4 separate regions of the Homo sapiens genome follow, and all the other regions are linked to region 1. The links are contacts of gene promoters, found by promoter capture Hi-C in blood cells and fetal thymus (Javierre and others, 2016). All regions are on one chromosome and are shown on one strand. The core of a region is centred on a gene start or on the middle of the fragment in contact, and the rest is flanking DNA. Distances in the headings are between cores, read along the strand shown.

Region 1 (6,815 bases), core at 3,056-5,555:
GACCCTATCTCCAAATACAGTCACATTCTGAGGTTCGGCGGGGTGGCTAGGACTTCAACATATGAAGAGAGGGTACCATGTAATCTGTAACAGCAGGTCATGGTAACCACAGAAATCTTATTTCTCTAAAATACCTTCCAAAACAAAAACAAAAACTAGAATAAAAAATAACAAAGAATATATAAAACAACACAAAACCCACACCCTCACCACAACCACAGGACAGAAAATGTCCAAATTCCAAATGACTGGTAAATAGAAAAATAAATGCTAACCCGGGCTCCATCTCTTTTGCTTCTGCTGCTGGCCTTTGCAAAGAGGAAACCTGGAGGTTGAAGAGGGTCTAAAATCTCCATCCTGAGTTTGCAAATGCTGAAAGCGTAACCTGGTTGATCAGTACAAATACCCAGGGGTGGAAGTGCCCTGGGGACAGGAGATTGGTGAGACTCTCTCACCAATGGACTCTCTCTCCCTCTCTAAAAAAACAATGATGTTTATTCAGGAACGGGCATTACAATGGGAATAAGTATGGATGTGTTCCAGGAGGTAAAGGAAGACATTTTTTAAAGAAAAAATGAAAAGGGTTACATAGGCTTTTATAAGACAATCATCTTTGGGGCCAGGCACGGTGGCTCACACCTGTAATCCCAGCATTTTGGGAGGCCGAGGCAGGCAGATCACAAGGTCAGGAGATCGAGATCATCCTGGCTAACACGGTGAAACCCCATCTCTACTAAAAATACAAAAAATTAGCCAGGCGTGGTGGTGGGCGCCTGTAGTCCCAGCTACTCGGGAGGCTGAGGCAGGAGAATGGCATGAACCCGGGAGGCGGAGCTTGCAGTGAGCCGAGACCGCACCACTGCACTCCAGCCTGGGTGACAGAGTGAGACTCCATCTCAAAAAAAAAAAAAAAAAAAACTTAGCTGGGCATGGTGGCGGGAACCTGTGATCCCAGCTACTAGGGAGGCTGAGCCAGGAGAATTGCCTGAACCCGACAGGTGGAGGTTGCAGTGAGCCCAGATTGCGCCACTGCACTCCAGCCTGGGCAACAGAGAAAGATTGTCTCAAAAAAAAAAAAAATAAAAAAGAGACCTGAAGGTGCCTCATATACTGTTCAGAGACATTCATGCATATAACAGTCTACACTCGGTGTCTGCTTTCTCTTTGCTTTTACTTAGCAATGTGTCCTGATATGTTTCATATGAAATTATATAGCACTCTCTCATTATTTTTAATGGCTACACAGTGATCTATTTTATGAATGTATAAACACTAGATGCAAATGAATACATACCAATGACTTCATCTGCACAAAGTCCAGAAACAGGCAATACTAATATGTTTTCAAAATTCAGGATAGAGGTCACCTCGGAGGAGGAACAGGTCAGAGACCAAGGGGTAGGAGCTGACGGGGGGGCTGTTCATGCTATTAGGAAAACAGGAGCCTAGGAGAGACAGGGTGACACCATTTTAAAATCAACTGCTTTTTTTTTTTTTTTTTTTTTTGAGACAGAGTCTGGCTCTGTCACCCAGGCTGGAGTGCAATGGTGCGATCTGGGCTCACCGCAACCTCCATCTCCCGGGCTCAAGCCAACCTCCCACCTCAGCCTCTGGAGTAGCTGGCACTACAGGCGCACAACATCATGCCCGGCTAATTTTTGTATTTTTTGTAGAGACAGGGTTTTGCCATGTTGTCCAGGCTGGTCTCAAATTCCTGGGCTCAAGCAATCCACCCACTTCAGCCTCCACAAGTACTGGGATTACACGCATGAGCTACCGTGCCCATCTCAACCCCATCTTTTTTTTTTTTTTTTTTTTTGAGACGGAGTCTCACTCTGTCGCCCAGGCTGGTGGCGCGATCTCGGCTCACTGCAACCTCCGCCTCCTGGGTTCAAGCGATTCTCCTACCCCAGCCTCCTGAGTAGCTGGGACAACAGACGCATGCCACCACGCCCAGCTACTTTTTTGTATTTTTAGTAAAGACAGGGTTTCACCGTGTTAGCCAGGATGGTCTCAATCTCCTGACCTCGTGATCTGCCCGCCTCGGCCTTCCAAAGTGCTGGGATTACAGGCATAAGCCACCGCGCCCGGCCCCAACTCCATCTTAAAACTAGCAAGGCACATTCCTTGCTAGTCCCAACCCATGGTCATAAGATGCTATGGCTAAAAGAGCAGTTTAGTAATGCCTGCAAGGACAAAATCCTACAACAACAAAATGTCCAGATGCTCCAATATTGCCTAACAATATATGATTTAAGATAGTTATAGTTACAGGACTCGATGGCTCACACCTGTAATCCCAGCACTTTGGGAGTCCAAAGTGGGTGGACTGCTTGAGCTCAGGAGTTCGAGACCAGCCTGGGCAACATAGCAAAACCCGGTCTCTACTAAAAATACAAAAAAATTACCTGGGCGTGATGGTGCACACCTGTGGTCCCAGCTACTTGGAAGGCTGAGGCAGGAGGATAGCTTGAGCCTGGGAGGTGGAGGTTGCAGTGAGCTGATATCAGGCAACTGCACTCCAGCTTGGGCAACAAGGTGAGACCCTGTCTCAAAAAAACAAAACAAAACAAAATATATATATATATATATATATATATATATATATATAGAGAGAGAGAGAGAGAGAGAGAGAGAGAGAGAGAGAGAGAGAGAGTCATGCTTTGATGTATTTATGCATTAAAATGCCAAGGATAACTTTCTTTAAATCAAAAAGCACTAAATTTTGTTATGCTGTCAGCCCACCCTCATGTAGACATAGCTTAGTTTTTACATAGATAAGACCCCTCTATAAGAAGAGTTTAATATAAAGAGGGTGTGTTCCCCCTCTTGCTTTCTGAGGATGGCCTACTCTGTAACTGAGTAGCTTTCAATAAACAATCGCTTCTCACTGCACTCTGCAACTTGCCTTGAATTTCTTCTGGGCAAGATCCAATAACCCTCCCTTGGGGTCTGGATCGGGACCCCTTTTCCAGCAACAATATTGTTTCTTGAACTCGGTGGTTATGCAAGTGTGTCCACATTTTAATCATTCATTGAAATGTACATGTACACTTGTGATTTCTGCACACCCGCTTCAATTTTACAAATTTTATGCTCACAACCCATTGGGAGAGGTATATATACAGGGAAATAACTATGGATCCGTTTGGTAAACAAATGTAGAACTCAACTATCCTGCACTCTTGAAGCAGCTGACTCCAGTGCCGCAGGGGGCTACCTGCATGCCAATTCCACACCCAATAATCTTGGGCAGGTTACCAAAGTGTGAAGACCCTGACTGAAAAATGGGAGTAATAATACAACTACCTGATATTGTTGCAAGGATTTAATATAACTTATGTAAAGTGGGCAGAAGTGCTCCGCAGGCACAGAGCAGGTGCTCAATAAATGCCAGGACCAAAATACCACGAAACTGTAATTTTTATAAGGAAAAGGATCTTTTCTTCAGTGCTCAACGAGGAAATATTATGGGGCCGTGCGCAATAGCTGACGCCTGTAATCCCAACGCTTTGGAAAGACTAAGCGGGAGGATCGCTTAAGCTCAGGAGTTCGAGGCTAGCCCGGGGAACATAGCGAGATCCCTTCTCTACAAAAAAAATTTTTTTTAATTAGCTAGCGTTGCGCGGTGGCCGTATGGTGGCCAATGAGGTTTATCCGAAGCGCGATTATTGCTAATTGAAAACTTTTCGCAATACCCCACCGTGACGACTTGCAATATAGTCGACATCGGCAATTTTTAACAGTCTCTACGGAGACTATTTCAGTAAAAATAAATAAATATGGTGCGCGCCTGTAGTCCCCCCTACTGGCTGGCGCGGGAGGATCGCTTGAGCCCAAGATTTCCAGCCTGAGCGACAGAGCAAGACACCTTACCTAGAAAAAAAGAAAAAATAAATATTTTGGGTGAAATATCCAGGGCCGGCCTCCTTGGAGAGGGCGCTCTCACGAAGGAGCGTGGCCCGAGGTGCTGGGACGCGGGAAAGACGTCTTTCTGGACCGGTGCTGGGACGCGGGAAAGACGTCTTCCTGGACCGGTGAATTTCCAGCTCCACAGACTCCGGCCGCGCGCACACCAGCCCAGCTCCACTTTCTGCCGCCCGCGTCCCCTTTAAGACGGAGCCATGACATCATCCCAGACACTGCGCAGCCTACCTTGGCAACGCCGCGACCACTTTTTTCCGGACGACCTCAATTGGCTGGCCAGCCTCCGGAGGCCCCGCCCCCTTCGCGCAGCCAGCCCCGGGCACCTGCTGTCAATCGGGCCAGGTGGGAGCGATGATTGGCCGCCGGGCCCGCCCTCCAGAAAGCCCCGCGGGGCTCGCGTAGGCTGCAGGCTCGGGGAGGGAGGGCAGCGGCGCCGCGTCGGGAGCCGCCGCCGTCCCGGTCCTCCCGCCCGCCCGCCCATCCGGTGCCTCCTGCAGCCCGCCTGCTGGGCAGGGCCGGCGCGGCCCGGCCATGGAGTCCTACGACATCATCGCCAACCAGCCTGTGGTCATCGACAACGTGAGGCCCGGCAGCCAGGGGGAGGGCGGGCGCCCCGCCCCCGGGGGCGCACGCGGCGGCGCAGGGAGAGACCCCCGCCCGCCTCGGCGCGTCCTCCGCTCACTGCGTGGCCGTCGCCCCCGCCGGGCCGCTGGCTTCGCCCCGGGGGCGCGCGCCCTCTTGGCCTTGTAAGGCCGGCCATGGGGCGAGCCCCCTCGCCCGCGTCGCAGAGCCTCTTCCCCGACCCCTCCCCGAGTCGGGCGGGGAAGTTCAGGAGAGCTTGAGTGACAGCCGGGCGGCCGGGCGGGGACGCGCCCCGGACTCTTCTCAGTTGAGAGTGCGGTTCCTGGGCAGGTTTCCACACCAGTTCCTTTCCGCGTCCTTCGGCCCTGGCTCTGGCTGCCTGGCGGAGGTGGGGTAGCATTTGTCATTTGCACACTGCTGGCTTTATCTTTGGGGCTGCACCCCGAGGCAACAAATGCAGGATGCTCTGTCACCCACATGTCCACCACCATCTGGTTTGCCTTTTGGCTACTTTGACTTTCTCCTTAAATGCTTCCTGTGCTGAGCAAACATTCCACAGCCAGCAGAGCAATGGAGAGTTCATGGCCACTCTTCCCAGTATCAGCAAGCAATTTGGGGTGATCGTTTGGAAGCCTCAGAGGAAAGATGTCATCAGGCTTCCTGTGGCTTTGTCCTTCAGCAGTGGGGCTCGGCTTGCTTTCACCTGCCTTAGGAAGATTTCTGGCTTCCGAGCTCTGATATGGGGAGAAGATAAGGGCTGGGATCTTTGAGTCTGCCCCTAGCTGGGTATGTGCGTCCGGTGTGCGGGCCTTGGAGTTTTTGGTAATGACTCACTTGTGCTCTTTCTGGGATCTGTCTCCCTCCCACATGACCCCGTGGGGTCCCTGAATGACTGTTTTAGAGTACCCATGTGGGTTCCCTGAGTCACAGCAGGGGATGTTTAATAAGGAGGTTAGCACTGAGCTTGGGGACGTGCTGTCACACCAGCAGGACGCTGCAGGAAGGAGCAGGCTACTTCCTTTCTTGACGTGCAAATAACTCGTATAGGCTAATCAACAGGCTTATAAGTTAAAAGGGCTACCGCTCGGCCCCTTGGGGATTCCATCCCCTCCTCTGTAACTTGGAGATGTTTGTTTCTGCTGCAGACTCAGAGGGTTGCGATGAAGAGTGGTGGGACTGAGTTGAGAAGCTTATCCCTTCGCTGGGTGGGAGGTTTCTAATTGCCCCGTTCTTTGGGGGATCCTTAAGTCCAGCTTCCAGGTGGGGGCAGCGATAGGACCAAGTTCTCCTAGTAGTCTCTGGGAAGCCACTTGAGGGAAGCTGCCGGTCATCCCATGCACCCATTGGTCTTCTCCAGCAGGCCCTGTAGGTCGTCCATGTTCCATGCCTTCTGGGTTCTTGGGGGAGAAGGAAGCTGTTGAAAAAAAAAAAAAAAGACCCACACAGAGGGGTTTCTTCTAGCTTTTGGGAGTAGCATGTGCTATGGAATCCTGCTGGAGCCAACCATTAGTTGTGCAGAGGAAGGTGCCCTTCGTGGTTTCTCTATCTCTATATTATTGACATTCTGGGCTAGCTCCTTGTTGGTAGTGCAGGCTCGCCTGTGCATCGTAGGATGTTGAGCAGCATCCTTGGCCTCTGCCCACTAGATGCCAATAGCATCCCCCACTGCATGTCCCCTCTCCCCAGCTGCCAGACATTGCCAAATGTTGCCAGAGCAGGGGGATACAAAATTGCCCCCAATCTTGAACCATAGGTGTACTTGTAAATGATCCTGGCAGGGTCCCTGGCTTCCTCCTTGGCCTGCCTTGACGGGGCAGCCAGCTCTCTCCATTGCGGGGGACTGGCTTCATCTGGTGGTGCATGTGGGCAGCTCAACTTTGTTTTTCCTTGCAGGGTTCGGGGGTGATTAAAGCTGGCTTTGCAGGAGACCAGATTCCCAAATACTGTTTCCCAAACTAGTAAGTGTGGCTCAGGCAGCAGCCTTAGTCCTTTTGTTTACCTTCTGTAAGAACATTGGCCTTCTGTCACAGGGCTCTTTGAAGACAATTTGTGCCCTGACCTGTATGGAAAACACCAAATTTGTGAGGTTGACACTCTTGAGAGAGCACTGAAAGAACAAGACAAGCGTTCTAGGGTTCCCCTTTGTCTTGGGAGTCTCTCGTTTTGGTCTTGTTGAGCCAGCAAGGAGGAAAAGCAACCAGCATTTCCCTGGGGATGGGGTGTGGTAGCAGCAGCAAGAATAAAGGGAGACATCTCCGAGGGGAGCCCTAAACTCGGAGCAGGAAGAGTGAGGAATTAGATGCACA
Region 2 (6,815 bases), core at 1,418-3,917, 1.5 Mb before region 1:
ATCTGTTAGGTTTTGTTGTTTAGTGCATGTACATTCAATAGCACGCTAATTCCATAGGAAAAGGGTTTTTAGATTTTGTTGTTTTGGGTCTGTTATATTCATAGAAGTATCCCAAACATCTGTGTAAAGCGGTATCTGCCCTATAGCAGACATATAATATATTTTTGCAGAATAACTGAAGTTTAAATATTTACAGACTTCTGAAGGTGTGATAGTCAAAAGTTACAAGTTTTTAGAGACAGAGTCTCGCTATGTTTCTGGTATTGAACTCAGCCTCAAGCAATCCTCAATTTTCCCAGTAATTGGAGCTAGGTGTGTGTCACCACGTTTGACTCAAAGAATACGTTTATTTTATCTTATTTATTTTTTTGAGACGGAGTCTCGCTCTGTCGCCCAGGCTGGAGTGCAGTGGCACGATCTGGGTTCACTGCAAGCTCCGCCTCCCGGGTTCACGCCATTCTCCTGCCTCGGCCTCCCCAGTAGCTGGGACTACAGGCGCCCGCCCGGACGCCCGGCTAATTTTTTGTATTTTTAGTAGAGACGGGGTTTCACCGTGTTAGCCAGGATGGTCTCGATCTCCTGACCTCGTGATCCTCCCGCCTCGGCCTCCGAAAGTGCTGAGATTACAGGCGTGAGCCACCACGCCCGGCAAGGAATACGTTTTAATAAAGTAAAAGTTACTGTTAATAATTAGGCACGTAACTCCTGGACCCTGAAACAATTACGCTGTCTTCTGTAAAACAGGAAAATATCAGGCATCACAGGAGAAGTATGATCCCATTTCTATTTTTTTAAATGTCTGTGAACGTGTGTAATCACAGAAAAACTCTGGAAGGTTGTCAGAAAAACGTTAACATACCCCTGGGGGTATGAAAAAAGGCGTTTTTCCTCCCCCTTCTCCCCCCCAGCGACCGATAGTTCTTTTGTCTTTTTACAATGAGCATGCATGCAACAGGAATGTTAAAAATCGATTTCTTTTTCTAAACCGACAATGTATACAATTATTAAAGGGGGAAAAACACTTCTGAAATGCAAAACATGGAATCACTCTTGCAGAGATACCAGAGATCTCTGAAAGCTGGAAGCGTGTCTCTTCTCTGAACTCCTAGTGCCTAACAAGCAGTAGGCAGCCCTCATTACTGCCTCTTGGCAAAAAGGGCAGAACAAACAGCTTTTGGTAGGTCTCGATCAAAATGGTAACAAATCACAGTTTTAATAAAATGGCAAATATTCTAACTGCCAACTCTTGGATGTTTGCATTATAAAATGAAGCAATACAAAGATAAAGGCAATTTTCTGTCTTCATTAAAAAAAAAAAAAAGCAACCTTAATACCCAGTGGCAACCCTAAGTTATGAATAAAGCAGCAGCACAGAAAATGCTGCTTGGGTTCCCTTTCCCAAGCTGTCCAGCCTCGGCGGCTCCGTTCTTGAGCTCCAAGAGTCTGGGCACAAAAAGCCGCGTGGCCCTGGATCCTGCAAATTGGGAAACGGGGGGATCCTGCAGGCCAATGGCCTTACGGGAGCCAATGTGACGGGATCAGGGGCAGACCCATTTAGGTTGCCGTAACCGGCCAATTCAGTACGCAATAGGGAAAATCAATTAGGATCTGCAGAGGGTTCCCGGATACACCTTGCGAAGAATGCCGCACTCTCCGCCACTCATTCCCCACTCACCGGCACCCGCTAAACCTTCAGCCTGAAATTTTCCTCCGAAGGGAAGCAGAGCAGAGGAAGAACTACCAAGTGCTACACTCAAAGCCTGCCGTCGCAGTGAGCGCGACCTCCAAACTGAGGCATTTTTGTTCCGGCGAAATCCCTCCCACTCAGGAAAGTCCCTAGAAAGAGAGCGCAGGCGCCTGGGTATCACATGACCACTTCCCGGAAGCGCAGCAGACCCGCTCAACTTCATCCTGGGTTGAGGCGGAGGAGAACTTCCAGAATTATGGCGAAGTCCGGGCTGAGGCAGGACCCGCAGAGCACAGCTGCAGCCACTGTGCTAAAGCGGGCAGTAGAACTAGATTCGGAGTCGCGGTATCCGCAGGCTCTGGTGTGTTACCAAGAGGGGATTGATCTGCTCCTGCAGGTTCTGAAAGGTGAGCAATGAGCCAAGGCGGGGAGGACCTGAGGAAAAGGAGCTGGTTCCTGCTGTGTCTGGGGTGAAGTGAAAGAGTTAAAAATGATTTTTCCACACCACGAAGAAGCAGTTAAATACAGAAGGTGGGATATTCTATAGGACAACTGGGCCGCTTTCTTTTAGATCTTTAATAGATTGATGTTACCTAGAAAAGGTGGGGAGGCTACTAGTCTAGATTTTAAAAGACTTAAGAGATATAAGATATAACGCAATGTAATATATAAGCTTTGATAGGACCTGGGTTTGTACGAACTTTAAAAGACATTTTTGGATCTATTAGAAAAGTTTGAATATAGATTGGGGGGCATTAAAATTATTTTCTTAGGCAATATGATTTTTTTTCCAAAACTTTCCTTAATTTTTAGAGATGCAGACCAAAGTGTTTTAGAAAGAGATGCTATGATGTCTTTAGTTAATTTTCCTTAAGCAAAAATTTCTTAAAAATCGAAGCTCTATTTGAGCAAAAATGCTAATTTTAAAAATTTCGGTGATGGGTAATAAGGGTGTTTATTATACGATTATTTTTAATTTTCTGTTTAAACATTTGCATTTAAAGCAAGCCAAAGTAAAATTATGTAGCGGTAGAAGAAGAAAAGTTTTTCTTAAACGGATGAGGTTCGGTGTGAGAAATGCGCAGGGTTGTGGAGGAGACAAGTGAGACTTTTCGTATTATTCAATGTTGAGAAATACCCAAATATTCCTTAACACCCAGCACAACCCTGGCTCACAGTAGACACTCAATATTTATGTATTAAATTGATAAGATCAGCTCCTGCTCCCCAACCCCCGACACTCCCGGTCTGGACTAAGCTCCCTCTGTTCTTTCTAGTTTAAGCTTCTTATAATTAAAGTGTTACAGAAGCTTTGGGGCAGCAGAGGGGAGCCCTTTATGGTTTGGTGCTTTGGTCAGAACTACAAACTCTACCGGCCGGGCGCGGTGGCTCACTCCTGTAATCCCAGCACTTTTTTGGGAGGCCGAGGCAGGTGGATCATGAGGTCAAGAGATCGAGACCATCCTGGCCAACATGGTGAAACCCCGTCTCTACTGAAAATACAAAAATTAGCCGGGCATGGTGGCACGCACCTGTAGTCCCAGCCACTTGGGAGGCTGAGGCAGGAGAATTGCTTGAATCCGGGAGGCGGAGGTTGCAGTGAGCCGAGATCGCGCCACTGCACTCCAGTCTGCCAATAGAACAAGACTCCGTCTCAAAAAAAAGAAAAAATAACTGTAAACTCTACCTTGCCTGGGGCATTATTTGATGATAATGATGACAGTGACAACAGCAATAAGCATAGATATCACGTTTCAGTGCTGAGTGCCAGGCATTGCAGAAAACATTAAAAGCATGATCTCGTTTCATCCGTACCAATTGCCCTATCAAGTAGGAGTTGATGGTATTCTCGTTTTACAGCATAAAAAGTATTGTTCGCTTTCAAGTTCTGCCACTAGGAGGTGGTAGAGTCACAGTCGGAGCCCAAGGCCCCAACGACTCTGGTATACTGAATCCCAAAAGAGAGATGGTGTACTGTGTTGGTCAGGTGGAACACTGCTCAAGTTTTGGCTGCACTAGGAATCTGAAGCAGGAGAATCACAGTTCTGCTCTAGGGTGCTTCACTGATCCCGTAGAGGTTACAGAGACAATGATGTCACATAGATGGGTTAAGACCAAAATGCAAATAGCGCTAATACAGGGAATAAGTGCCAGGAGAGAGATATCTATAGATAAACGCAATGAGGATTTAAACAGTTAAAGGTCATGTGAGGGTGGAAAGGTAGAGGTGGAGTTTGATTGGGGCTTTGGAGGAAAAATAATTTCAGAAGTCAGAAATTCATCTAAGAGTCTTCAAATTCCTGTGCTGTCTTACGAAATAAGTAGTTTGGTTGAGCATGTATCTGAAGAGGAAGAGTGAGAAGTAAAGTTTAAAGGTAGATAGGGGCTTGGATCACATTGAGGATGGCCTTGACTACCAGGAGATTTTAACTTATTCCACAGGCAAGGAGAAACCATTTAAGGTTTTTACAAAGGAGTAACATAATTGGAGTTGCATTTCAGGGCTTGTCTCTTTCAGGAATGTGCTCTTTTCTCACAGATATTTATTTGCATGGCACACTCTCTCTCCTATTTCAGGCCTTTACACAAATACCACCTTCTTTGTGAGGCTTTCCCAGACCTCCAGTGTAAAATTATAACCCCATCCCAGCACTCCCTGTCCTCCTTCATTATTTTATTTAATAGCACTTACCTCAATCTAATATACATGTTTTGCCAATTTATTTTTATTGTTCTCTTCCTACTTGAACAATAGAAGAGAATTTTGTCTGTTTTACGAACTGCTGTATCCACAGCACTTAGAACAGTGCTGGGCATGTTGTTAGTTCTCAATAAATATTTCTTGAATAAAGGACTGAATATGGCAAGGATGTAAAGTAGACATTAACCTGTAGAGACTGAAGTTAAGCAGACCAATTAAGGAGCTCCTGCTGGAATCAAAATAAGAGGTGTGTATAGCCATTATAGAAAACAGTATGGAGATTCCTCAAAAAATTAAAAAGAGAACTACCATATGATCCATTGATCCCACTACTGGGTATATATCCAAAGGAAATGAAATCATTATGTTGAAGAGATATTTGTACTCCCAAGCTTACTGCAGCACTATTCATAATAGCTAAGATAGGGAATCAACCCAAGTGTCTATCAGCAGATGAATAAAGAAAATATGGCACATATATACAGTAGAGTACTGTTCAGCCATAAAAAATGAAATCCTGTCATTTGTGACATGGACAAACTTGTAGGAAATTGTTAAGTGAAATAAGCCAGACACAGAAAGACAAATACCACATGATCTAACTCATATGTGGAATCTAAAAAAGTTAATATCATAGAAGTAGAGAGTAGAATAGTGGTTACCAGAAGCTGGGAAGGGCAGTGGGTAGGAGGAATGGGGAGAGGTTGGTCAAAGGGTACAAAATTACAGTTAGATGCCAGGTGCAGTGGCTCACGCCTGCAATCCCAGTACTTTGGGAGACTGAGGTGGGTGGATCACTTGAGGTCAGGAGTTCGAGACCAGCCTGGCCAACATGGTGAAACCCTCTCTTAAAAAAAAAAATTTACAGTTAAATAAGAGGAATAAATTCTGGTGTCTTATTACACAATAGGGTGACTAGAGTTAATAATGTGTTGTATGTTTCAACATAGCTAGAATGAAGGATTTTCAATGTTCTTACCACAAAGAAACAATAAATATTTAAGATGACAGATATCCTAATTACCCTGATTTGATCATTACACAATGTATACATGTATCAAAACATCACATTGTACCCCATTAATATGTATAATTATTATGTGCCAATTAAAATTAATAAAACCTTTTTAAAAAGATGAGGCATGATAAGGGCCTGAATGAACCAGGGAGATGATACCAGTATTAAGATAAGGAGGGGGCACTGGCACATGATTAGATATGGGAGTAAGGTTAATGGGAATCAAAGATGGCTGTAAGGGTCCAAGCCTGAGAAACTGTAGCGTAATGATTGAAGGATGGGTCTATGTGTGAGACACTGCCAGCTGATCAAGGACAATGACTAAGACTGAACTACTACATAATTTAAAGTCTAGCAAGGTTGAGGAAAGGTTGTGTTTTGCTTTTATTTGGGCAGGAGAGGGATGGGGGAAAGCTAGAATGAGCTCTGTGGAATCAAAGTTATCAGCATGAACTCATGGTTTTTAATATTTATATAGATGGACAGAAACAAATACATATAGATGTATGTATATATAGATGTATGTGTTAGTAAGCCTACATATACCTCCTAGCTGTATTGACTGAGAGGGTCTAGAAGTAGTGGTGGGACTCCCCCAGCAGCAATGAACACAGCTGGCACCCAGAATTTGGTTTCTCAATGCCATTCTTCAATAAAAGTGACCGAGGCTCCTTGGAAAAGGGTATTTCAGGGCTGGGGCAAAAAATAAACAAGATGAGTTTTAACAAATCTTTTGGCTTCCCTGGGCCACATTGGAAAAATAATTGTCTTGGGTTACATGTAAAATACACTAACACTAACGACAGCTGATGAGCTAAAACACACACACACGCGCACACACACACGCACACATACACACACCCCTCATAATGTTTTAAGAAAGTTTACGAATGGCCAGGTGTGGTGGCTCACGCCTGTAATCCCAGCACTTTGGGAGCCCCAGGCGGGTGGATTGCTTGAGGTCAGGAGTTCAAGACCAGCCTGACCAACATGGCGAAACCCTGTCTCTACTAAAAATACAAAAAATTAGCCGGGTGTGGTGGCGGGCGCCTATAATCCCAGCTACTCCGGAGGCTGAGGCAGGAGAATCGCTTGAACCTGGGAGGCGGAGGTTGCAGTAAGCCGAGATTGCGCCTCCAGCCTGGGCAACACAGCGAGACTCCGTCTCAAAAAAAAAAAAAAAGTTTATGAATTTGTGTTGGGCCTCATTCAGAGCTGTCCTGGGCCACATGCAAGAGTTGGACAAATTTGGTTTAAAACATCTTGTGGCTGTGCATGGTGGCTCATGCCTGTAATCCCAGCACTTCGGAAGGCCAAGGCAGGCGGATTGCCTGAGCCCAGGAGTTCGAGACTAGCCTGGGCAACATGGTGATACCCCATCTCTACAGAAAATAGAAAAGAAATACAAA
Region 3 (6,815 bases), core at 1,850-4,349, 1.5 Mb before region 1:
TCTTTGCTTATATTACTTCCTTCTAAATTCCCTTTCTCTGAAATCTGAGATGGTACAACTTTGGTTTTTTTTCCTAGTTTCTTGATGAAGAGGTTTTAAAGAATCCCATTCCCTCCTCCCTGCTCCAGGACTTCTGTCCCTTGGTTATTCTTACCTTTACCTACTTCTTCAGCTTCTCCACTGGAACCTTTCAAGTGACACTCAAACATGCTGTACTCTTTAACAATCCTCCAGTGACCTCATTTCTCTTTCCACTTGTCATCCTGTCTGCTACCCTTCTGAGCCAAGCTTCTTGGAAAAACTGCTATACATCCAGTATCTACTTTCTCACTTCCCATTCATTGTTTCAACGTACTCCAAAATGGCTTTTCCCCATTATTCCAGCAAAAGTGCTTTTGCTAAGGTCACGGGTGACATTCATATTGCTAGATCCACTGGACTTTTCAGTATTCATCTAAGTGTTCATTTGACTACCTCAACCTGGAGATTCCTGTGGACAACTTTGACATTACCCTGTCAACTCCTCAGTCCCTTTTGCCAGGTTTTCCTCCAGCCTCACTGCCAACTCCGCAGTCCCCTTTGCCAGCTACCCTGATCTAGTCAGCCCTAAATGTTGGAGTTCCTCAGATCTTTATCTCACACTACATTTTCCTTAAGCAATTTCATTCATTCTATGGCTCTAAGTACCATTTCTGTATACAACTTCAAAATTTATATTTTTTAGTTCCATAGATACAACTGCCTTGTAAACCTGGTAAGTCTAAAAGCCATGCTCCTGAACTCACTCTTTCCCCCCAGGGATCCTGCATGCATAAAGGCTAAAGCCTTTTTTGCCAGAAGCCCTTTCTTCTTCCTCACTTTCCGCTTCCAAACCATGACTACATCCTGTCAGACTTCACCTGGACTCTATCCCCTTCTCTCCACTTTTATGACCATCACCATCATTCACTTAGACAACCATGTCACTGCAAAAGCTATAAATGTCCTCAGAGGCTGCTCTATGGAGTAGCCATTCTGTTTCTTTACTTTCTTAATCAACTTGCTTTCAAAAATGTCCTGAGATACGCTTTCCCATTTCCCACGTTAAAATCAAGTTTATGGCCCAGTGGGAGGATCACCTGAGGCCAGGAGTTTGAGACCAGTCTGGGTAACATTGTAAGACTCTGTCTCTAAAAAAATACAAAAACATGCTGGGTATGGTGGCACATGCCTGTAATCCTAGCTACTAGGAGGCTGAGGCAGGAAGATCGCTTAAGAACAGGAATTCGACACTGCACTGAGCTATGATCGCTCCACTGCACTCCAGCCTGGGCAACAGAGTGAGACCATCTTAAAAAAAATCAGTTTTATGTGGTATGTCTTGTGTTGTGTTATGTCCCTCTGAATGCTATACGTTTCTTCATGGCATATCACAATTTGCATCTTATATAATTACTGTATAATCTCCTGTCTTTCCTAGTAGACAGGCACAAAACTCTACAAGGCACTGGCTATTTTATTCACTACTGTATCTCCAGCACCAAGCACAGTGCCAGGCTAGGTGAACAAATGAATGATTTATGTATTTTTTTTCTCTTCTAAAGAATTACGTTCTGTAAATAATAAAAAGCATTGTCTTTTTGGCTTATGTCCCATTCAACAATTGTTTTTCACTCTCAATATTCCCTACAAACACATTTGTTTAGTATTTTTCTGATTAATAAAATATAGCTTCCCCCCGGAAAAGATGCCCTTTCCTCTTTTAAAATGAATATTAAAGAGATTTCCAACTACCAGATATTTTCATAACTGATATACAAAACAAGGTTTTTAAACAGGTTGTTTTTTCTCATATTAAATATTGGTGACATAAAATGGTACCATCTGCAAGACAAACTATTAACACTTGGAAAGAACACTTTTCTAACTCTAAAATGGATTCTATGTGGGGGGAAAAAGCAGTTTTAAAGGCACGATTTAAAATGTGAAATCCTTCTGAAGATATGCAATTTATTGGTCTTTTGCAGTTTATTGGCAGTGATCTTTTACAGAACAAAAATGCAAAATGTAAGAAAGTAAAGTATCATAAAGCAGAATCCCAAAATGGAAATGTAACATACAAAACTGATACACCAGAAATATTGTGAAATACGGATGTCACATTGCTTGGACTTTTTTTTTTTTTTTTTTTTTTTTGAGACGGAGTTTTGCTCTTGTTGCCCAGGCTGGAGTACAATGGCATGACCTCAGCTCAGTGCAGCCTCCGCCTCCAGGGTTCAAGCGATTCTCCTTCCTCAGCCTCCCAGGTAGCTGGGATCACAGGTGCCCACCACCATGCCTGGCTAACTTTTTGCATTTTTAGTAGAGATGGGGTCTCACCATATTGGCCAGGCTGGTTGCGAACTCCTGACCTCAGGTGATTGACCCGCCTTGGCCTCCCAAAGTGCTGGGATTACAGGTGTGAGCCACTGCGCCCGGCTGCTTGGACACTTTTTTTAACCACTTGTTAAAGAAATACATTAAAATGAAAATGTTTTGATGCCATTCAAATACTGTTACTTAAAAACTCTGGTTTTTAAGAAGGATATAATATAATACCAGAGAAATCTGCTTTGAATCTTGGAAGGCTTTTTCACCCTAAAGCAACTGCCTTTTGAATAAGCATCATAAAAAAATGCAGTGTAAGATGATTCACAAATAGTGCAAAATAAGGCAATAGTCTTCCATCATTTTGTCAGGGTTTCCTAATAAGGTTAAGTTCTCTTTCAACACCCCCCTTAGTCAAAGGCAGTTTTTGGTTTCTTTGGTAATACGTACAAATTGCTTCATTCCACATCTGTCATTTCTAGTCCATCACTTTCTTTGACATATACCACTGAACCCAAGGCTTTCCCAGAAAGAGATCCTGTGCCAGTCCCTTCAATCCTTGTAAAGTTTTCTTGATTTGTGTCTTCTAATCTTATTTTCTTGGTGTTTTGAAATAACTGAGTCGCTGGTTCCAACCTGCTTTTTTCAGTCCCTCGTATTAAGTGATCATCCACTTTTGAATCCATATGTATAGCAGATACCTGAGTAGCAGATTTACTAAGTGAAAATCCCATTAGGATAGCTGAACAAATGTGAAAGTAATTTGCAGGTACCTTTTTAAGTAGTGGAAGTGTTTCTTCAACTTGATTACTGAAAAAAAAAAAAAAAGTAACAAGTGAATGCAGCAGGAATTTCCCTAACTTCATGGCAATGTTTGTTTGAATGAAAAGCTGTGGTGATACTAGAAATATAAAGTAAAATTGCCTCCTACCTTTCAGTGTTTACATTTTCTTTGTGGGAGGGTTTGCAGGTTCTAAAGATTTATTTGAAAGTCTTTTTAAAAGGAAATTTATCTGATTGTATGTTTTATCACCTTTCAGAAAATAGTAGAGCTTCTCTTAGTCCTTTCTTTCATTCTTGCTAGCGAAACCTCTTTATTCATTACTAATGGGCTAAAGAAATAACGACTGAAGGCCAAGTACTCTGCTAGTACTTTATTTTCTGTAAAAAATAAAGATGTCCTATAAAGATACTTGTGATTGGCTGGGTGCGGTGGCCCACGCCTGTAATCCCAGCACTTTGGGGGCCGAGGCGGGTGGATCACCAAAGGTTAGGATTGAGAGACCAGCCTGGCCAACATGGTGAAACCCCATCTCTGCTAAAAATACAAAAATTAGCTGGGTGTGGTGGCATGCACCTGAAATCCCAGCTATTCAGGAGGCTGAGGCAAGAGAATAGCTTGAACCTGGAAGACGGAGGTTGCAGTGAGCCAATATTGCACCACTGCACTCCAGCCTGGGCGACAAGAGCGAGACTCTGTCTTAAAAAAAAAAAAAAAAAAAAAAAAGATACTTGTGATTAAGGATGTCTAGTCTGTAAAAAGAGATGATCGGCCGAGCGCAGTGGCTCACACCTGTAATCCCAGCACTTTGGGAGGCTGAGGTGGGTGGATCACGAGGTCAGGAGATCGAGACCATCCTGGCTAATATGGTGAAACCCCATCTGTATTAAAAATACCAAGAATTAGCCGGGCGTGGTGGCGGGCACCTGTAGTCCCAGCTACTCGGGAGGCTGAGGCAGAAGAATGGTGTGAACCCGGGAGGCTGAGGTTGCAGTGAGCCGAGATCGCGCCACTGCACTCCAGCCTGGGCGACAGAGCGAGACTCCGTCTTAAAAAAAAAAAAAAAAAAGATGATCATGTAGCATGGAGGGAGGCCTTGGGAAGTTTCCCAAAGGAGGGGAGCCTAGGTTAGGGTTTCGCTTTCAAAGATGGGCAGGAATTTGGTAGGCAGAGTTGACCAGGATGGCAGAAGGGACAGGCTTCCTGTACAGAAAAGGTTTGAGAAAGCCCAGGGCTTACTGGAGAAGAGTGATCTACCCAAGATGCTATAGTAGCAACCTGAGATCTGGAGCAGATTCCACAGCTTCGATCGAAATCCCTCACCCATTTTTTTTTTTTTTTTGAGATGGAGTTTCACCCTTTCACCCAGGCTGGAGTGAAGTGGTGCGATCTCGGCTCACTGGACCTCCACCCGGCAGGTTAAAGTGATTTTCCTGCCTCAGCCTCCTGAGTAGCTGGGATTACAGGTGCCCGCCACCAGGCCCAGCTAATGTTTGTATTTTTATTTTTATTTTTATTTATTTTTTTTCCAGTCTATATTTTATTTATTGTGGTAAAATATATATAACATTTACCATTTTAAACACTTTTAAGTGTACAATTCAATGACATTGAGTACATTTACATTTTTGTGCAAACATCATGGTCATCCATCTCCAGAACTTTTAATCATCCCAAACAGAAACTCTAACGTTTGTATTTTTAGTAGAGACGGGGTTTCCCCATGTTGACCAGGCTGGTCTTGAACCCCTGACCTCAGGTGATCCACCCACCTCAGCTCCCAAAGTGCTAGGATTACAAGCATGAGCCACTGCGCTCAGCCTCACCCACTTTTTAGAATGTATTATGTCTTTAATATTTACCTACTGTGGTATCTTTGATAGTTTACAATTTCATACTCATCAAGCTGTAATTACTGACTGAACATTTCTAAAGAATCATCTTGAAACCCTGTTTATCCATATTTGTGACTGAATATCAGTGTTTATAACAAAACAGAGTCCTGGGTCTACTGTAGTAGCCTAAATATAGTACTTACTCAAATATTAATATAACAATTAGGTAAATAGTATATATTTGGCTTTCTGGGACTCAAATACAACTTAGCTAAATTTTTTAATATCTCTGATGAAATTCTGAAATATGGGTATATTTGATTTTTAGATTTGGAACTTGAAGATGAATTTTTCTTCCTCATCAAAGGAATATCTAATACTGCCTTCAAATGAATAAAATTGAGTTTATTCTATTTGGTTTCTCTTTTTCTTAGAAAGGAAATACTCCTGTCAAATGCATAACTTGAATCTAAACATGAGGAAACAATCAGATAAACCCAAACAGAAGTATCTTCTATGAAACAAATAGCTTCTACCTAAAAATGTCAATGTTATGAAAGACACAGAGAGGCTGAGGAACTGTTTCAGATTAAAGGAGGCTAAAGATACATTATTTCAGATGCAACCAATGCTCTTGAATTGGGAAGGGGATGGAATGTACTACAAAGATCATTACTTAGATAACTGAAACATTTGGATATGGGACAATATTAGATAATAATATTGGATCAATGTGATAAATGCCATGAATATGATAATTGTATTGTGGTTATATAAGTCAATGTCCTTGTTCTTAGGAAATACATACTGAAATAGTTAGGGGTGAAGAATTGTATCTGCAACTTGCCCTCAAATTGTTTAGCAATAGATAGATAGATACATAGATACAGAAAGACAGTAAAATATGCAAAATGCTAACAACTGTTAAATCTAGGAGGTAAAGCTTAAAAAGTTGTTCTACATATTATTATTATTACATTTCTGTAGGTTTAAAACTTTTTCAAAATACAAAATTGAAAAAACGTTTTAAAAAACACAAAACTCTAAAACATGGCATTTGAAATCAACAAACGTAAAAGAATGGTAACATATAATTATCAATTTGCACATTAAACTTCAATCTAATAAAAGGACTGAGGAGGAACCAAGTATAATAGGGTAGACTTGGCCCTGTGAGTCTTACCTTAACTTCCCCAGAGTTGAGGACATGAAGGGTGAACAAGTCTATTGGGGGCCTCTTTGGACTGGCATTTAGGTTGCCATTCAAGAAGAAATCTGGAATATATATGTAAGAATAAAGGTACATAAAGAGATAAATCAATCTGGAGAAAAAGAACAAAGTGGCTTTCTTTACTAGATATTAAGATAGGCTACGCGGCTGGGCACAATGGCTCACGCCTGTAATTCCAGCACTTTGGGAGGCCAAGGTGGAAAGATCTCTTGAGTCCAGCAGTTTGAGACCAGCCTGGGCAACATAGGGAGACCTCATCCCTATCAGAAAAAAATTAAAAAAAACAAAAAGATATGCCACAAAGTGAAAGTAATAAAAATAACCTTGTACAGGTACAGGAACAAATAATCAGTAGAATATGACAGAGCTGTAACTTGGACTTAGGTATTTCAGGAACTTCACATATATCACAGGTGGCACTATAAGACAAAGGAGATAGAACAGACTAAGTTTAGTATGATGGTATCGTGAACATTGGCTAACTATGTGGACATAAGCAGGATCTTAAACACAGAAGTAGGCTGGGCGCGGTGGCTCACGCCTGTAATCCTAGCCCTTTGGGAGGCTGAGGTGGGCGGATCACGAGGTCAGGAGTTCGAGACCAGCCTGATCAACATGGTGA
Region 4 (6,815 bases), core at 3,038-5,537, 1.2 Mb before region 1:
TAGCAAGCAGATGCCATGAAAAATGTTAAAATAATAACAAACAGCAAGAAGAAAAACCTATTGCAAACATACCCTGTCACAGTTCCTGCTTTAGAAAAGGGGAAGGAGAGAGCAATAGCCTGGGTGACTCTTGGTGTCTAATATCACAAACTTTCTAAAAGATCAGTCTCTACACCATCAACCTTTTCGTCATTTCCACATGTTACTTTTGAATGATTCTTGGTTACCTGGAGCTCCTTTCCTTCCCGAGAGAGCAGGAACTGACTTTGTGACAATAGGAGGAAGTTGGACTGGAATCTGAATTCTAGAGGTCTTTCAGAAGAAGACTATCACAAGGCACTGTATGTTTGCCAAGCCAGTAGGGCTTCAGGAGGCCAGAGAAGGGGGGAATCTTAAACTGCATAGAGTGGGAGAGTTTGAAATAGTCCTTGGGGGCCCTGGTAGAGTATCTTGGAGGTTGGGGGCAGGGGGGTGGGGGAGAGTGGGGAGGTGACAGTCACTCAGACCAAGTGTCTGGCACAGTGTTGAGGGCTTGGTTTGACCTGAGTAGGGAGTGGAAGAAACGGCTTAAGACCAGAGAATCTAGGACTTTAAATTTAGCTGAAAATTTTGGTTTTATCCTATAAGCCATGGTTAGCTATTGGCATGATATGAGCCATCTTTTAGGAAAACCAGTCTGGCTTTACTATGAGGGTACATTCCTGAAGTGTTGACATGGGAGACTGGCTGGGAGGAACACAGAGCCATAGAGTCCCAGCTGTTCAGCTCGGCCACCTGCTTGCCCAGGCTTGAACAAGGTATTGGCCTCTCTGAGTTCCTGGCTCTCAAGTGCAAAAAGGGACTCATCATCCCTTCCTCACTGGGATGAATGGAAGATTAAATGAAATAACAAGTGTGGGAGCACAGAGCATAGCAGACACTGGCTGCTGTTGGTCGCCTTCCCTTGGCGTTACTCTAGTCCACTGGTTTTGAGGCTCTGCCAGAGGAGCTGTAGACATTTACTTTGGAGGCATATCTGCCATTGTCCTGATAAACTTGTGAGCCCAAGTAGACCAGTAGGATACAGACTGAGAAAAGACACCCGTGGGTACATGCCTACTTAAGTGCCAGCTTTATAGTGCTGCTATCACTAAACCATTATAAGCCTTGAAAAAAGTGGGGAGGTGACAGGCTTCCTGGAATTGGCTATAGCGACGATGCTTTTTATCTTTATTTCTCTCAGCGCGCTCAGTCTGAATCCCTGAGCGACCTGACGTGCACCCCAGAGGAGGAGGAAAACGAGGAGAAGCCACTTTTGGAAGTCAGCCCAGAAGAGCGCCCCAGCTCTGGGCAGCAGGACGTGGCGCCAGACAGAGGCCCTGAGCCTGGGCCACCGGCGCCCTTGCCGCCACCCGGAGGGGCCCGTGCCAGACGCGCCCGCCTGCAGCACTCCTCCGCGCTCACGGCCAGCGTGGAGGAGGGGGGCGTCCCCGGGGAGGACCCCTCAAGCCGCCCGGCCACCCCGGAGCTCGCCGAGCCCGAGTCGGCCCCCACTCTCCGCGTGGAGCCCCCGTCCCCGCCGGAGGGCCCCCCGAATCCCGGTCCCGACGGCGGAAAGCAGGATGGGGAGGCGCCCCCCGCAGGCCCGTGTGCCCCGGCCACGGACAAGGCGGAGGAGGTGGTCTGTGCTCCCGAAGACGTCGCGAGCCCGTTTCCCACCGCCATCCCTGAGGGGGACACGACTCCCCCCGAGACTGACCCCGCCGCCACCTCAGAGGCGCCCTCTGCTCGCGACGGGCCAGAACGCAGTGTCCCGAAGGAAGCGGAGCCGACGCCGCCCGTGCTCCCGGATGAGGAGAAGGGGCCCCCAGGGCCGGCGCCTGAGCCCGAGAGAGAAGCGGAGACGGAGCCCGAGAGAGGAGCGGGGACCGAGCCCGAGAGAATTGGGACCGAGCCCTCCACGGCGCCCGCCCCGAGCCCGCCGGCGCCCAAGAGCTGCCTGAAACACCGGCCCGCGGCCGCCAGCGAGGGCCCCGCCGCGTCCCCGCCGCTTGCCGCTGCGGAGTCTCCCCCGGTGGAGCCCGGCCCCGGTTCCCTCGACGCAGAGGCCGCCGCCCCGGAGCGCCCCAAGGCCGAGCGAGCCGAGGCGCCACCGGCGGGCGCCGAGAGGGCGGCGCCAGAGCGGAAGGCGGAGAGGGGCGGTGCCGAGCTGCGAGGCGCGAAGAAGTTCTCGGTGTCCTCGTGCCGAGCGCGGCCTCGTCCGGGCGTCTCCCGCCCGCTGGAACGGGCCAGCGGCCGCCTGCCCCTCGCGAGGAGCGGCCCGGTCTGGAGGAGCGAGGCGGCTCTTGACGACCTCCAGGGTCTCCCCGAGCCCCAGCACGCGAAACCTGGCCCTCGGAAGCTGGCGGAGCGCGGCCCTCAGGACTCGGGGGACAGGGCGGCCAGCCCGGCCGGGCCGCGCAAGAGCCCTCAGGAGGCGGCCGCCGCGCCCGGCACGAGAGAGCCCTGCCCAGCCGCCCAGGAGCCGGCCCCGAGTGAGGACAGAAACCCCTTCCCCGTCAAGCTCCGGTCCACCTCCCTCTCGCTCAAATACAGGGATGGCGCCTCTCAGGAGGTGAAGGGTGTGAAGAGGTACAGTGCCGAGGTCCGGTTAGAAAGGTCGCTGACCGTGCTCCCGAAGGAGGAGAAGTGTCCCCTCGGGACGGCCCCCGCCCTTCGAGGCACCAGGGCCCCCAGCGACCAAGGAAAGGGGAAGGCCCGGCCCCCCGAGCCGCTCAGCTCCAAGCCGCCCCTGCCCCGGAAGCCGCTTCTGCAGAGCTTCACGCTCCCGCACCAGCCCGCGCCCCCCGACGCCGGCCCGGGAGAGCGGGAACCCAGGAAGGAGCCCAGGACGGCGGAGAAAAGGCCGCTGCGCAGGGGAGCTGGTAAGAGCCCGCCGAGGGTGCGGGAAGGGCAGGGCCTGGGGAGATCCACATCCACGGGCACATCTTGCTGGACACTCGCCAAATGCTCCTGGTACAAACTTTGTTGCAGGGGAATTGGAAGGAGTCAGAATTCCCACTAACATCATGTCTGATCTAGAGCAAGCTTGTCCAACTCGCGGCCTGGGCCCGGGGCGGCTTTGAATGTGGCCCAACATGAATTCGTAAACTTTCTTAAAACATTGAGACTTTTTGCGAATTTTTTTTTAAGCTCATCAGCTGTCCTTAGTTTAGTGTATTTTATGTGTGGCCCAAGGCAATTCTTCCAGTGTGGCCCAGGGAAGCCAAAAGATTGGACACCCCTAATCTAGAGTAAGGAATAGGCCGACCTCGGTAGCTCATGCCTGTAATCCCAGCACTTTGGGAGGCCAAGGCCTGCTGATAAGCCCAGGAGTTCAACACCAACCTGGGCAACATAGTGAGACGTCGTTCTACAAACAATTTTAAAACTGGCCAGGCGTGGTAATGAGGGCCTGTAGTCCCAGCTACTTGCGAGGCTGAAATAGGATTGCTTGAGCCCAGGAGTTCAAGGCTGCAGTGAACTATGATGGTGCCATGCACTCCAGCCTGGGTGACAGAGTGAGACCCTGTCTGTTTTAAAAAGAGAGAGATAAAATAAGGAATAAAGAGTAGAAAAGGGAAAATAAATACCAGGATTTTGCATAAGTACAGAGAAGTCAGTGTGTAAACATGAGATAAAGAGAAACGTAAAAACTGATTTTGATAGGACTCTCAGCGAATCCCTCAAATTCTTCTCCCACTTTTGACCTAAGAAACTCAGCAAAGTCCAAATCCCAGGACATGTGTACTCATTTTGATGCAGGTTCTTTCAGGGCCTAAGCTATTTCTTGGCTATAAATGAAACATACTCCTCTATTAGGGTCCTTCTGACCTTTTCCTCCAAGAAAGAATTTCCTCCTGCTTCATAATCAGGTTCACGTGGCTCAGCTGCAACATGGAAAGTATTCCATATATTGGAATCACAAGTCTGTATAAAACGTAAGTCTCTCAAGAGGGTCAGCATTTACTTGCTGTCCTGAAAGGGAGATTGGGTTAACATTGAGGCAGAACGTAAGAATATTTGAAAGCAGCTGTCTTTTGAAATGAGCAGAGACAAAGTAGATGACCTTTCTCTGTCTTTGACATTTGTCACTTCTTATAGTGTTTCAGATGAAATGAGAAATCTGTTGAAAATGTGTATTTGCAGCAGAGCTAAAGAATCTTTCATTGCTGGGTTTTTTGTTGTTTTTGTTGTTGTTTGTTTTTGAGACTCCGTCTCACTCTGTTGCCCAGGCTGGAATGCAGTGGTACGATCTTGGCTCACTGCAACCTCCACCTGCCGGGTTCAAGTGATTCTCCTGCCTCAGCCTCCCAAGTAGCTGGGATTACAGGCACACACGATACTACACCCGGCTAATTTTTTTATATTTTTGGTAGAGACGAGGTTTCACCATGTTGGCCAGGCTGGTCTCGAGCTCCTGACCTCAAGTGATCTGCCCGCCTCAGCCTCCCAAAGTGCTGGGATTACAGACATGAGCCACCATGCCTGACCTGCTGGTTTTTTAAATTAATGGAAATCTGTGAACCAGAAAATGAAACTACACAAATAAGTTGTGTGTGCATGTGATGGGGGCCCTAGGGAGAAGTTTTCCATGACAAATTTTGTTTTTTAAAAATGTTTTGGCCCGGCGTGGTGGCTCACACTTGTAATCCCAGCACTTTGGGACGCCGAGGCAGGCGGATCACAAGGTCAGGAGTTCAAGACCAGCCTGGCCAACGTGGTGAAACCCCATCTCTACTAAAAATACAAAAATTAGCCAGGCATGGTGGCGCGCACCTCTAATCCCAGCTACTCAGGAGGCTGAGCCAGGAGAATCGCTTGAACCCAGGAGGCGGAGGTTGCAGTGAGCCGAGATCACGCCACTGCACTCCAGCCTGGGTGACAGAGCGAGACTCCATCTCAAAAAAAAAAAAAAAAAAAAAAGAATGTTTCAGGCTACTCAAGCAGTGTATTGTGGGACAGAGAGGAAATAGAACCCAGTAGCTTTCTTAGGGAATCCTGCACCCTAAGAGGAAGATGCATACATAGGAAGAAAATTAGCTCATACAAAACAATGTGAAAACAGTTCCAAAATAGTCTAATCTTTTCTGGCTCTTTTACAGTGCTTTAAATTCCTAACGTGACACACAAGGATTCACAGTTCCAAAGAGCCCACACATGTGGCCTTCCCAATCTGAAGGCCCCTTGGCACAGCCGTGATTTTGTGTTGCTGCTGCCACTGCAGTAGGATAATCAGTGCGGAATCTGGAGGAAGTTCAAACCATCACTGACGATCCACTCTGCAGATTTCCATTGAGGTTATTGAAGCTATTGTAGAGTGATTCAAAAAGCCATTGAAGTAGCAAGGGAGGAAGGAGTTGCTCTCTGTGCACATGAAACCCTGACCTTCATGGCCTAGAATTGAAAATGTCTCTCAAGAGCTTGCTAAATGAATGGAACTTAAAAACAGAATATCAAGCTCGTAGTCAGATCTGAAAAAGAAGCTTCAGAGGGCAATGCTTTGCCCATTATTTATATGTAAGTTTCTCAACCTAAGCCAGGCTTTCTTCACTATAAAATGCCTGGGATAATCTGTAAATACTTTGTGTATTTTTCTTTGATTTATAAAATGTAATAGAGTATTTTTTTTATTAACAGCTTTGCTTATATAGTAGAAGAGAATTGTCTCATCCATCTAAGTTTAATCACATTCACTAAAGCCATAGAAATGTCAGAGTTAGATGAATTTCAAAACGAAAGAAGAATCTAGGTTACTTTATGGGTATGGTTAATGATATTCATTTTAACACAGAGAGAGGGAAGGAATTACCCACATTCTATAGGGAAGCAACTCTGGGGGCAGGGGCAGTGGTATTGGAAGGACAGGTACCAGGACAGGCTGGGCCTGCTGCCTGATCCTACCTGGACCTTGAGGGGCTATCTCATGCTGACCAGAGCAGAATCTCAGGGTCTGCGCTGTCAGACCCCAGCAGTGAAGCTGCCCCCACACTTTCCCTAGATGCCAAATCTGTTTGTGCTTTCATTGATTATTATCACTTCTACTATTATCATTCTCATTGCTCCCAAATTACATTAGCTAGAAGCAATTCAGTTCACATAAAACATACAGATAATGAAAGTTTTAATAACAATATCACTCTGTTTCCAGAAAGACCTAATATTTGCTGTTGTGGTGGCAAATACCTTGCCCAGAGCTCCCAGATAGTCTGCCACCTCCCCCGTCCTCCCTCCAGGGCATGTACAGTAAAGTTGGATGATTGAAGTGTTCCAGATGACTCGGCTTTGGGCACTCAAACTGCTTTGTCCCCAGCACCTGGTTTATTCCTCCTCCTCTCTTCCACACCTTGTTTTCCTTCTTTGAAGGAATGGAGGGACGCTTCAGCAGAAGGAGTAGGAAAGGATGCAATGGTGGTTGGTTGTAATAAACAGGAGCCTGGGTTGCCAAAGGGGCTGAGCCTCACAGGGGCTGTGCTGGAGTGGTTACTGCAAGCTTAGTATGTGTCTGTGCTCCTCGAGGCAGAGGAGCCCTGTTTATAAGCCTGGTTCATAATTTGCTGATCTGTCGTAGGAAGTAAATGGCCCAGGGTTATCAGCCTTGTTCATTTGTGCAGAACATTATGCATCCTCCTGTTGGTTCAATCCATCCCAGAGTCTAAATTACAGGTCATAAAGCAGCTTCTGCACGCAGGATTAGAATGAGAACAAAGGAGTTAGAGAATATTGTGTGGAAAAATTGCAAAACACAGAAAGTATGTAGAAAAAAAAATCACTCCTAGGTCAGCTCTCCTTCTAGT

The links. Contacts are between HindIII fragments. The CHiCAGO score rates a contact against its expected background, and 5 or more counts as called.
Region 2: a contact is called between a fragment that was not itself captured here and the fragment with the promoter of ACTR1B in region 1, in 2 of 17 cell types (fetal thymus and naive CD4 T cells). The highest score is 7.5, in fetal thymus.
Region 3: a fragment that was not itself captured here is called in contact with the fragment with the promoter of ACTR1B in region 1 in 1 of 17 cell types (fetal thymus); the score reaches 6.0 in fetal thymus.
Region 4: a contact is called between a fragment that was not itself captured here and the fragment with the promoter of ACTR1B in region 1, in 1 of 17 cell types (neutrophils). The highest score is 5.0, in neutrophils.

What each region holds. Positions count from the first base shown.
Region 1 is chr2:97,661,534-97,668,348 of GRCh38, reverse strand. ACTR1B (actin related protein 1B) reads left to right here and starts at 4,305. Exons shown (of 11, transcript NM_005735.4): 1 at 4,305-4,506; 2 at 6,403-6,467. The coding sequence starts at 4,459. It overlaps LOC124900516 (U4 spliceosomal RNA), which reads left to right and starts at 3,618; the gene lies at 3,618-3,758. It also overlaps a transcript of C2orf92 not described here and the pseudogene RNU4-8P. RefSeq lists enhancers at 3,787-4,126, 5,167-5,236, 5,202-5,843 and silencers at 4,207-4,666, 4,747-4,806. The HindIII fragment of the contact is 7,381 bases long and covers 1-5,700 here.
Region 2 is chr2:99,176,110-99,182,924 of GRCh38, reverse strand. It overlaps MITD1 (microtubule interacting and trafficking domain containing 1), which reads left to right and starts at 1,867. Exons shown (of 7, transcript NM_138798.3): 1 at 1,867-2,094. The coding sequence starts at 1,944. MRPL30 (mitochondrial ribosomal protein L30) reads right to left here and starts at 1,741. Exons shown (of 6, transcript NM_145212.4): 1 at 1,676-1,741. RefSeq lists a silencer at 1,360-1,532 and enhancers at 1,750-1,799, 1,820-2,049, 2,060-2,199. The HindIII fragment of the contact is 610 bases long and covers 2,363-2,972 here.
Region 3 is chr2:99,146,824-99,153,638 of GRCh38, reverse strand. All of the region lies in intron 1 of TSGA10 (testis specific 10), which reads left to right. It overlaps C2orf15 (chromosome 2 open reading frame 15), which reads right to left. Exons shown (of 4, transcript NM_144706.4): 3 at 6,146-6,237; 4 at 1,970-3,156. The coding sequence starts at 3,080. The coding sequence ends at 2,805. Among named protein-coding and RNA genes, the nearest start is that of TSGA10, 4.7 kb to the left of the region's middle. The HindIII fragment of the contact is 5,617 bases long and covers 291-5,907 here.
Region 4 is chr2:98,817,945-98,824,759 of GRCh38, reverse strand. CRACDL (CRACD like) reads left to right here. Exons shown (of 10, transcript NM_207362.3): 7 at 1,223-2,903. Among named protein-coding and RNA genes, the nearest start is that of LINC02611, 49 kb to the right of the region's middle. The HindIII fragment of the contact is 2,438 bases long and covers 3,069-5,506 here.